Regions from separate parts of the Homo sapiens genome. Here region 1 is linked to region 2. Evidence: promoter capture Hi-C in 16 types of primary human blood cells and fetal thymus (Javierre and others, 2016). All regions are on one chromosome and are shown on one strand. The core of a region is centred on a gene start or on the middle of the fragment in contact, and the rest is flanking DNA. Distances in the headings are between cores, read along the strand shown. Region 1 overlaps CARD8 (caspase recruitment domain family member 8). Region 2 holds the start of CD79A (CD79a molecule).

Region 1 (5,310 bases), core at 2,327-4,826, 6.4 Mb before region 2:
GTCATCTTGCATTCTTTTATTGGAATCTTAATATAACTTCTTTGGGTTTATCCCCTGTAAGATGGAGGGAAATGCTCTTGAAGCCTAATTTGTCTGACATTCATATTGTTGCTCCAGATTCTTTTTAATAACCATGTATATGGTATATCACTGCCACTGTCATATGAGGGGTGGGGAAGTGGCCCCACTTGGAAACATTTTTGCAGATGAGTATTTAAAATGATAAATGTTGGCCAGGCACGGTGGCTCACACCTGTAATTACAGCACTTTGGGAGGCTGAGGCAGGTGGATCACGTGAGGCCAGGAGTTCGAGACCAGCCTGGCCAAATTGGTGAAACCCCGTCTCTACAAAAATACAAAAATTAGCCAGGCATGGTGATGCATACCTGTAATCCCAGTCACTGCAGCTCCCTGCACCTGTACTCTCACACACCACATTCTCTTAACCAGTCCTATTCTTTTTAGCTCCTATCATGTGTACATATACGTTTTCCTGTACCACAAACATTCTGTATAATCTCTTGTGCTATTATGTTTTATCTGTTTAGATCATGGATGTATGTCCAACCCATTAAATAGTACCAAGAATAAGGAACATGTGCAAAATGTATTTGTGGAATGAATACAAGAAGTGCCATAGAGCAGTGCAGTTTAACAGAAATATAATCCAAGCCCCAAATGTATATTAAATTTTCTAGCAACTGCATTTAAAAAAGCAAAAACAAGCAGATACAGTTAGTTTAAAAATACCTATGTAGTTGTATATGTATACACATATGTGTGTGTGTGTGTGTGTGTGTGTGTGTATATACTGATAAGGCCAGTGCGGTGGCTCACACCTACAATCCTAGCACTTTTGGAGGCTGACACAGGCGGTTCACTTGAGGTCAGGAGTTCTAGACCAGCCTGGCCAACGTGGGGAAACTCTGTCTCTACTAAAAAATACAAAAAAATTAGCCAGGCATGGTGGTGCACACCTATAATCCTAGCTACTCGGAAGGCTGAAGTGGGAGGATTGCTTGAATCCAGGAGGTGGGGGCCGCAGTGAGCTGAGATCACACCACTGCATACTCCAGCCTGGGTGACAGAGCAAGACTCTGTCTCAAAAAAAAAAAATTATATATATTATATATATTCTTACATATGTTTTACTTACATATTTGTGTATATGTATTTTATTTAAATATGCATATATATGTAAACATAACAAAACATATACATACGTTTTACCCAAAATGTCATAATTTAAACTTGTCAGCAATGTGAAAGTTATTAAGATAATATTTATATACTGTTATTTATATTGACTTCAAAACCTGAATGCTTTTTAAATTTATGATACACCTCAATTCAAACTAGCCCTAATTCAATTGCTCAATAACTGCATGACTTTTTCTCCACAAAAGTCATCATGGAGACTTCCCAGCTGCAGAAGAAAGTATGGGGTTTGAGATCAGCCATTGAATGCTCCCTGAGAGCTGATCATTCTTGTCTTAGAGAGGAAGAGGTAAATTAGGAAATAATTTTATTATTTTTTATTAGCACAAAAGGGCAGATGGTTGGGTAGCATGATGAAATAATTCCAGTGATCATCTCTAGTCTTGATTTTTTCTCAGATTTATAAAAGAAATAAAGAGTGATGAAGTTGTTTGAGCAATAAAAGCACACAAAGCAACCAAGCAGCAGGAGGATGGTATGGGTGGCTCTGTGTTCAGGAGATGGCTGGGAAGAGAGGCTAGGGCTGTGCAGACGCTGGGCTCTCCGCCGGTGTCTGCAGAGGAGACTGGCCATGTTGATGCTGGTCCAGACCATGAGGAACACAAACAGGACATGGCGAATCACCATGACATTTATAAATGATCCTTGGGGGAGTTTTATCTGTTTAGATCACGGATGTATGCCAAATCCATTAAATAGTACCAAGAATAAGGAACATGTGCAAAATATATTTGTGGAATGAATAAAATAAGTCCCATAGAGCAGTGCAATTTAACAGAAATATAATCCAAGCCCCAAATGTATATTAAATTATTGTATGTATGGCCTAGTTTGACAACAGTCTTGCAAATATCCAGGACCAGAAATGGTGAAATTGGTATTGGCCTCTACGGTTTCAGTGATGTGAACGTAGATTAGCATGTTGGTGATCCAGAGGAAAATGAAAGAGGGAACAAACCTCAAGGCTGATATGCGGATCACACAATAGTTTACCAAACTGCCCAATATCATAACCAGAGACGTTCACACTACAAACCAGGAGAAAAAGTTGGTGTTTTCACACTGTATAACTTTCTGCAAGATGCTGAAACAAGACTCTATATCATAATGAGACTTTCATCTCACTTAATTCGACCTTTTCTACTTAGCAGAATAATGGTGTAACTTAAATTTTATGATCAATTCCTTCTGCTTATAACTTAACAGAACCCAACCTACAAAATTCTTTAGTATCCATTGGTTAAGCAAGAAATTGTCTGTGATGTTGCTAATACGACATGCTATACCTGAATAAATTCCTCTGAGAAAAGTTGAGGCTCCTATACACAAAATAAGAAAGCAGGCCATGTGGTTACCCCAGGTCTCACCTAACTCCCTGCTGTCTCGAATAACTGTTTGAGTTCTTCAATTAGTTGTCTTTAAACCTAGGTTTATGGCTCAAAACCATATGCAAACTGAAAATCTCATATTGCTCTTAATTTGTATTTCCCCTTACTTTGTATTTCTCCTTTTTAAACTTTGTATGTGTTACTTGTTAAATTTTTTCAGAGGTGCAGCTCCTAACAAAATAATACTGAATCAGCACTTTAAAGGGATAGCAAAAGACTGTAGAACAGACAAAATTGAACTTACTAATGGACTCCAGGGAGACTTAGCCTGAGAGCCACATCCTTCAAATCTCTTTTGTTGCTCAAATGTGCTTTTGACATCGATTCCTAGTCACCAGTCACTCCCCACAACATGGGATGAGACCAGCAAACTGGGAGAGGTCCATGCTGGCATCAGGGGACATCAAATCTTAATTACAGAATGATTGATCAATAATGCTTTTAGAGAAAGTTCTTGATCACAAGGAGAAATCTGAAAGTTGTCAGAACAAAATGGAGCCACTAATGTTAAGATGACCCTGACAAATAAAGCCAGGAAAGCCATGAAGAGGGGGGGTCTTATCCTTGTATGCTTGAAAATGAAAAAGACTCTACAAAACCCACAACCTTGCATAAAGGTCATTGCAACCTTAAACAAAAAATATTTCTGCAAGGAATGCTGCCCAGCAACTGCCTGTCCAACCTCAGACTAATGTCACCTTTGTGCCTGATCCTGTGGCCAAGGAAAATCCTGTCAAAACAATATGCAATCCTCCCCATTTCTGTCTTCCTTTATCTTCCTGAATATATACATAGTTTAATATGGCATATCTATTCCCAATTGCAATGCTCTATTCCCAAATAAACACTGTTTCCTTTAGGAAGCTTTCATATGTTTGTTATTTAGGTTAACACTTGTAATAATTAAAGGATTACAGTTACAATGTAAAATTATTAGTATTAACAACACAAACATTGGTATAAAAATTATTATTACAGAAATTAAAACAACTTGAGTATGGAGAGATTAAGACTGTCCCAGCCAAGTCATTGAAGTCATAAATTTAAGCTATGACTAACAGGATGCAAAGCTTCCTGAGGGTTTTGTTTTGTTTTCAACAAGCGGAGGGCCCCATTTCCCTTTCCGACAGCCTCATAGGAACTTCTCCCTTTCTTCTCAAGTGACCAAGAGGAACAGAACACAGAGCAGCCTGGCAGTGTCCAAGCAACAAGCCTCCGCTCCTCCTTCCTGCACCCTGGGGCTCCTGAAACTCACATGGTAAGCGCTGCAGAAACGCAGCAGGTGGTGACTTTAGGGGAGGACAGGCCAAATGGGAGAATCCCCTTAAGCTTCGGTTTCTCTAGTTCTCAACTTCTTTTGAAATAATGTTCATAGAGAAGGAGGGCTGTCTGAGATTCGAGGGAAACAAGCTCTCAGGACTTCCGGTCGCCATGATGGCTGTGGGCGGTAAACGCGGTTAGTGCAAGCATCTGGGCCATCTTCAATGTGAGTAGGAAAAAACACGACTACACTTACTTCTGCAGAGTTTATAATATCCTTGCCCATTATTTACAATAAAATATCTAAAACATAGGTAATAATATATTTTAAATAAAATTGAAGCAATATATGAAATTTCTCTGAAATTCATCCAGCCACTCTCGGCTGTTGCCACTATCCAGAAACGTCTTAATCCCCCTGCATGATTTATGTATTTGGTTTGTATTTTAAATATTATTTTCTGTAATATTTAAAACTTGTATTTGCTTGGTATCGTGCTGTGCAGTCTCATGCAATTTGATTTTTAATCAATATTACTTTTTTTTTTTTTTGAGACGGAGTCTCGTTCTGTCATCCAGGCTGGAGTCCAGTGGTGTGATCTCGGCTCACTGCAACCTCCACCTCTCGGGTTCAAGCGATTCTTCTGCCTCAGCCTCCCGAGTAGCTGGGGTGACAGGCGCCCGCCACCACGCACGACTAATTTTTGTATTTTTAGTAGAGACGGAGTTTCACTATGTTGCCAGTCTGGCTTCGAACTCCTGATCTCAGGTGATCCGCCCGCCTCGGCCTCCCAAAGTGTTGGGATTACAGGCGTGAGCCACCGTGCCCGGCCCAATAGTACATTTTAAATATTTATCCATGTTTACATGTGGTTTTAATAATTTATGTTAACTGCGCTACAGTATTAATGCAATGATGATATTATAATCAATGTATCCATTCTTTGATGATGGACATTCAGTTTGTTACCCTGTTTTCTGATAGCAAACCATAATACAATGGACTTTTTATATGCATTTTCTTGTCCACACATAATTTCAAGGGTAGGTGTGTCTTGAAGTCTAGATACAGCCAGTTTATTCTCCAAAGCGGCTGTGTTTTCAGTCATCTCCACTACTGGTTTACGAGTTTCCATTGCTACACATTCATATTCACACTTGATTTTGTCAGCTTTTCTTATTTCCATCAGTATTGTGGGTGAGAATGATAACTGATAGTGGTTGTCATGCACATTCCCCTGATTACTAGTGAATTTTAACATCTTTTCAGGACATTTGTGTTTTATCCTTTTGATTCCTTATTTATATCATTAATTCATTTCTCTGTTGTTTGTTTCTTCAATATGTCAAGGAATAATGAATTTTATTCCAATTTTTGGAAGTTTAGGAATTTTTTTTAAATGACAGGGCTTCGCTGTGTGGCACAGACTGGTCTCAGCCATT
Region 2 (5,430 bases), core at 1,520-4,019:
AAGGAGAGGCTGGTACAGATCAGAGATTCTGGGAGGACCAGGCCCCACCTTCCCTGGTCTTGGCTACACCTGGAGGGTAACCACACTCCTGGGTGAGGGCAGGAGGGGAGTGAGGACACTCTTAGGGAGAAGAATGAGACTCTTCTTGGGGGGAGGTGGACGTGAGGACAGCCCAGAAGGGGAAACTAAATTGAAGACACCCCCTGGGCTCAGCGCCAGTTCAAGTCCCTTCTTTATATTCATTCATTTAACTCCCACAGCCCCTATATGGTGGGTGCTTTCATTCTCCCAAGTTTTGGATGGGGAACCTCAGGCTCTAGAGGGCTACCTGGGTATTGGGGGTCCCTCGGCCCAGGCCCTCGCCCGGCTGACTCAGAGGTCCGAGGGGGCTCACCCTGAACAGCAGCAGCGTCCCAGGCACCACCGCGCAGAACAGGAGGATGATCCCCTCGGCTGTGATGATTCGGTTCTTGGTGCCCTCCCCCATGTCCAGGAAGGGCCTGGGGGGCGGCTCTGCAAGGAGGTAGTATGGCTCAGAGCCCTGGCCCCTCTTGCCCTCCCTAGCCTCCTGGCCCCGCCCACCTCCTGCAAGGCCCCAGACCCCCCAGAGACCCCACTCTGCAGAGGAGAATGTCCGTCCCTCTGTCCAAGCCGGTTTGAAACCCACATTGAAGGTACTGGCTCTATCCCCACTTCAAAGATAAACCGAGTGTCCCCAGCGGGACAGTGGGAGTAGGGGCCAGGGCTGGGCCACTCACGGCGCACGCGGAGGTAGGTGCCGCAGGACTGCTGGTATGACTCGTTGCCCTCCTGGACCCGGCACACGTATATGCCCCCATGGCTCTTGTTCACATTCTGGATGATCAGCGTACCATTGGGGTCCTCGCCCGGGCCCAAGAACTCAGGGGGCCACGTGTAGTTGCCATGGAGGACGCGCCACCAGGTGACGTTGGCGTTGTTGCTGCTATTGTGCGGGCATTGGAAGTGGGCGTCTTCCCCCAGGCTCACCATCAATGATGCTGGGACCTTGTGCATCCACAGGGCCTGGCACCCAGGGCCTGTGGAGAGACAGGGTGGGTGGGTCAGGGACTGGGGATGGTGACACATTTCCCCAGCCCTGGCCCCTGCAGTTCCAGCACTCCTGGGAAGAGGGTGAGGACTCTCCTGGGTGGGGAGGGAGAGAGAGAGCCCCTGACAGGGGCTGATACATCCTGGGGAGAGGGGGGATGCGGGAAAGTGAAGAAGCCCCTGGGAAGGAGAGAGGACATACCTGGTTGGGGTGGGTGAGGATATCCTGGGAGAGGAGAATGAGACTCCCTGGGATGGTAAGACCCCTGGGAGGCCCTTCTCACCTCTGCAGCGCCATCTCTTGCCCCCCTCCCGCATACCCACTTTGTACTCTGGCCCTGTGAACTCTCTGGATTTTGGATGTTTGTTCCAGGCACTGGAGGACCGCTGTCCAGACAGCTCCTTCCAGAAGCAGTGCAGGCGTCCCCTCCTCCCGCAGCCTTCCCGGTCCATTTTTGCACCCCAGCCTCAGCCAGGCCCAGCACCTGGCGCTTTTTCTTGTGTAATCATTCACAGAACCCTAGAAGTAGGTTCTCTCCTTAGCCCCATTTTACAGGAGGGATGGCTGAGGCTCTGGGAGGGCAGGCGGGTTGCCAGCATCACCAGGCAGTCAGGAGTGGCACTGGGTTCAAACTCTTGGCTCCCTGGCCTCTCCCTGCCTGGGCTGAGGAGCCAGTCTGTGGCCTGCCCTGGCCTGTGACCCTGTGCCTGGCCCTCATTCTCTGTAAGTTGTATGTGTCAACCTAGGGGTCAGGGGTGAGTTCAGTCCTTGGGCTGGGCTGCTGGTGATTGAAGGGGCTCAGAGCGGGGTGGAGACTGGGGGTGTCTCTGAGTGAGACGAGGCGGCTCAGGCTGGCTGCAGTGTCCAATCCGGGCTCCTCTGGGAAGCCCCAGCTCTCAGCCAGGCCTCCCACATGGCCAGTCCCCTCTTCTGGAGGTAGGTGGAGGAGGGAGGTGAGGAAGAGAGAAGGAGGAAGAGATGGGGAGAGGGGCCGAGCACCCTCATCGTCACGGGCTTAAGACTCAGACGTGAACTCCAATCCTTGCTCCCAGTGTCCCCTTGGGTGGGGAACCTTTTTCTCTGAACTCCTGGGTTAGCGTGGCCACAGCCCCTGCCAGCTGTCCTTGAGCAGGTGAGGGGGAGTCCATGAGACACCCATTCCCCCAGTGCTGAGAAGGGACTCCCAACAGAGAGAGGCACCTGAGGTTTAAGGCAGAGAAAGCTTTTTCTCCCCTTGACAGACGCTGAATGCTGCTACCCCTAAGTCCCCTTCCTGCCCCCAGCCCTGGTGCTCAGTCAAGAGCAACTTTAGTTCCTTATTTTGGCCTGTGGGGAACAGGAGGTGGGGGAGGTGACTCTTGCTCCTGCCTCCCTGTGTGAGACTGTGGACGCCCCTTCTCCTTCGCTGGGCTCCCTCCAGCCCCACCTTGGCCCATCTTGGCACAGATACGATTTCTATAGGCATCTTCCCTGGGTCCCCTATCCTCTGCCTCCTCTTCCCCTTTCCCTGAGCCCCCTTCCCTCTGCCTGTGCCCTCTCTGCAGCCTCCACAGCTTCCCCCACCTCCCGCCAGTTCCTGCCCTTTGGCCACATACCCAGGTAGACAGCAGACAGCAGGAAGAGGAGGAAGATGGTGGCAGGCAGAGCTTGGAGGACTCCTGGACCCCCAGGCATCTTCTCCCAGTGGGTTGGTTAGTTTGAGTTGCAGCAGTCCCAGGGTACCAGATCCCTACCCCAAACCCCACCCTACTTCCTGCCCAGCCCCCCGGAGATGGGCTCCAGTGGCCCTCGCTACTGGGCCCTTTGCTTGTTGGGCCTGGGGACAGCCCCTGCCGGGTATGCTTCAGGCTGTGAGTGGAGAGAAACTGCTCCCTGCACCTGTGGTGGCCACAATTCCCCTGAGAGGTGGCTGCTTGGGTGGGGGAAGAGGCTGGTTCAAGGGCTGGCTCGTCACTGCTGAGCCTTTGGAAGGAAGCCTAGGGAACCTGAGTCCTGGGCATGTGTCATGGGCAGGTGATGGTTCTGAGCTTGACCTCTCCCCCTGCCTGGACTTGGGCAAACCTTGTCCCTTCCCTGACCCCATTTCCTTGCTTCTTGGGATTAGAAACAAGGACTTAAAGGGGTTGTCACATGCACAGAAATGGCCCACAGTAGGCGCCCAGTAAATGTTAGTCACTATAAATACTCATGAAGAATAAATAAGGCAGGCTGACCTGTGGCTGACTACCCGTGTGACTAGGTGGGCACTTTGATCCTTCGAAGCTTGACATTTTTCATCTGTGAGATGAGGACCAGAATGTCTCCCTGTCTCATTATGTGATACGAGATGGTGTTCCTGGTATTCAAGGAGTGAGAACCATGATCAGCTCTTTACTGGAATTCTTTTTTTAAAAAAACAGGCCAGCTATGGTGGCTTATGCCTGTAATCCCAGCCCTTTGGGAGGCTGAGACAGGAGAATCACCTGAGGTCGAGTTTGAGACCAGCCTGGCCAACATGGCGAAACCCCATCTCTACTAAAAATACAAAATTAGCCAGATGTTGTGGCACATGCCTATTATTCCAGCTACTCAGGAGGCTGAGGCAGGAGAATCAGTTGAACCCAGGAGGTGGAGGTTGCAGTGAGCTGAGATCACACCATTGCACTCCAGCCTGGGTGACAAAAGCGAAACTCTGTCTCTAATAATAACAATAATAACAACAACAACATATATTTTTCTTCTTTTTTTTTTTTAAGAGGGATGGGATCTTGCTATATTGCCCAGGCTGGTCTTGAACTCCTGGCCTCAAGCAATCCTCCTGCCTCAGCTTCCCAAAGTGCTGGGATTACAGGCATGTGCCACTGTGCACAGCCAGAAGTTGTTTTATATTGACCTGCCATGACTGGCAAGGTAGGCCATCCCCCATTTTACAGAGGGGGAAACCGAGGCCAGAGAGGGGAGGTTGTCACTTGCGGGTGTCATACAGTCTAGGGGTGGTGGACAGAGATTCAAAGTCATCTTTGTGTTGCTCCCAGTTTCCTTTGAGCATGTCTGGTAGGAGGGAAATGAGGTCTGAGTGGGGAGGGCGGAGTTGCTGAGATATTTGTGAGCAGTTAGGGGACCCTCACACACATACAAGGGGATATATAAAATAAATTTATTGCAGGGAGATTTTTGGTAGCAAACATTGAGAAGCAAATGAAAAGTCCATTTGTGGGAGAATGGGTGCATACACTGTGGCAAAGTGAGCCAACAGAATGCTACAGAATAGGGGAAGGTGTCATAAGGCTGTCTCAGAAACAGCACAAACATCAGAAAAAATATCGTAGCATGATACAGTTGACTTGTTTTCAAAAGGCGTCCGCTGCTTAGGGACACACGTTTGTAGCAGAGGTGTAGACCCGTGCAGGGGAGTGGCAAACGCCCAGTTCCTGGGAGGGGTTACCTCTGGGGGACGCCAGGGTTGGGTCTGGGGAGGGACACACAGAGACACAGAGAGCTCATCTTGTCTTGGTTTTATTTCCTGTGTTACTTTTTTTTTTTTTTTTTTTGAGACGGAGTCTCGCTTTGTCACCCAGGCTGAAGTGCAGTGGCGTGATCTTGGCTCACTGCAACCTCTGCCTCCCAGGTTCAAGTGATTCTCCTGCCTCAGCCTCCTCAGTAGCTGGGATTACAGGCGGCCACCACCATGCCTGGCTATATTTTTGTATTTTTAGTAGAGACCAGGTTTCACCATGTTGGGCAGGCTGGTCTCACACTCCTGACCTCAGGTAATCCACCCACCTCAGCCTCCCAAAGTGCTGGGATTACAGGCGGGAGCCACCGTGGCTGGCCACTTTTTTTTTTTTCTTTTTTAGAGATAGGGCCTCTCTCTGTCACCAAGGCTGGTGTCCAGTGGCATAATCATAACGTCAAACTCCTGGGCTCAAGTGATTCTCTTGCCTCAGCTTCCCAAGTAGCTGGGATTACAGGTGCACACACCATGCCTGGCTATTTTTAATTTTTTTTTTCTTTTGAGACAGAGTCTCGCTGTGTAGCCCAGGCTGGAGTGCGATGGTGTGATCTTGGCTCACTGCAACCTCCGCCTCCCGGGTTCAAGTGATTCTCCTGCCTCAGCCTCCTGAGTAGCTGGGACTACAAGCAGATGCCACCATGACCGGCTAATTTTTTGTATTTTTTTAGTAGAGATGGGGTTTCACCGTGTTAGCCAGGATGGTCTCAATCTCCTGACCTGATGATCCACTCGCCTCGGCCTCCCAAAGTGCTGGGATTACAGGCATGATCCACCGCACTGGGCCTATTTTTTAAATTTTTTGTAAAGACAGGGTCTCACTGTGTTGCCCAGGCTGGCCTGGAAGTCCTGACCTCAAGTGATTCTCCCA

Evidence for each region. The method cuts DNA at HindIII sites, captures the fragments that hold promoters and counts their contacts. A CHiCAGO score of 5 or more calls a contact.
Region 1: a contact is called between a fragment that was not itself captured here and the fragment with the promoter of CD79A in region 2, in 1 of 17 cell types (non-activated CD4 T cells). The highest score is 5.8, in non-activated CD4 T cells.

What each region holds. Positions count from the first base shown.
Region 1 is chr19:48,248,306-48,253,615 of GRCh38, reverse strand. CARD8 (caspase recruitment domain family member 8) reads left to right here. Exons shown (of 14, transcript NM_001184900.3): 2 at 3,769-3,865; 3 at 3,983-4,093. It also overlaps the pseudogene VN1R97P. Among named protein-coding and RNA genes, the nearest start is that of CARD8-AS1, 4.7 kb to the left of the region's middle. The HindIII fragment of the contact is 206 bases long and covers 3,474-3,679 here.
Region 2 is chr19:41,874,618-41,880,047 of GRCh38, reverse strand. It overlaps CD79A (CD79a molecule), which reads right to left and starts at 2,769. Exons shown (of 5, transcript NM_001783.4): 1 at 2,665-2,769; 2 at 759-1,058; 3 at 395-513. The coding sequence starts at 2,743. RefSeq lists a silencer at 2,568-2,627 and an enhancer at 4,035-4,104. The HindIII fragment of the contact is 1,040 bases long and covers 2,294-3,333 here.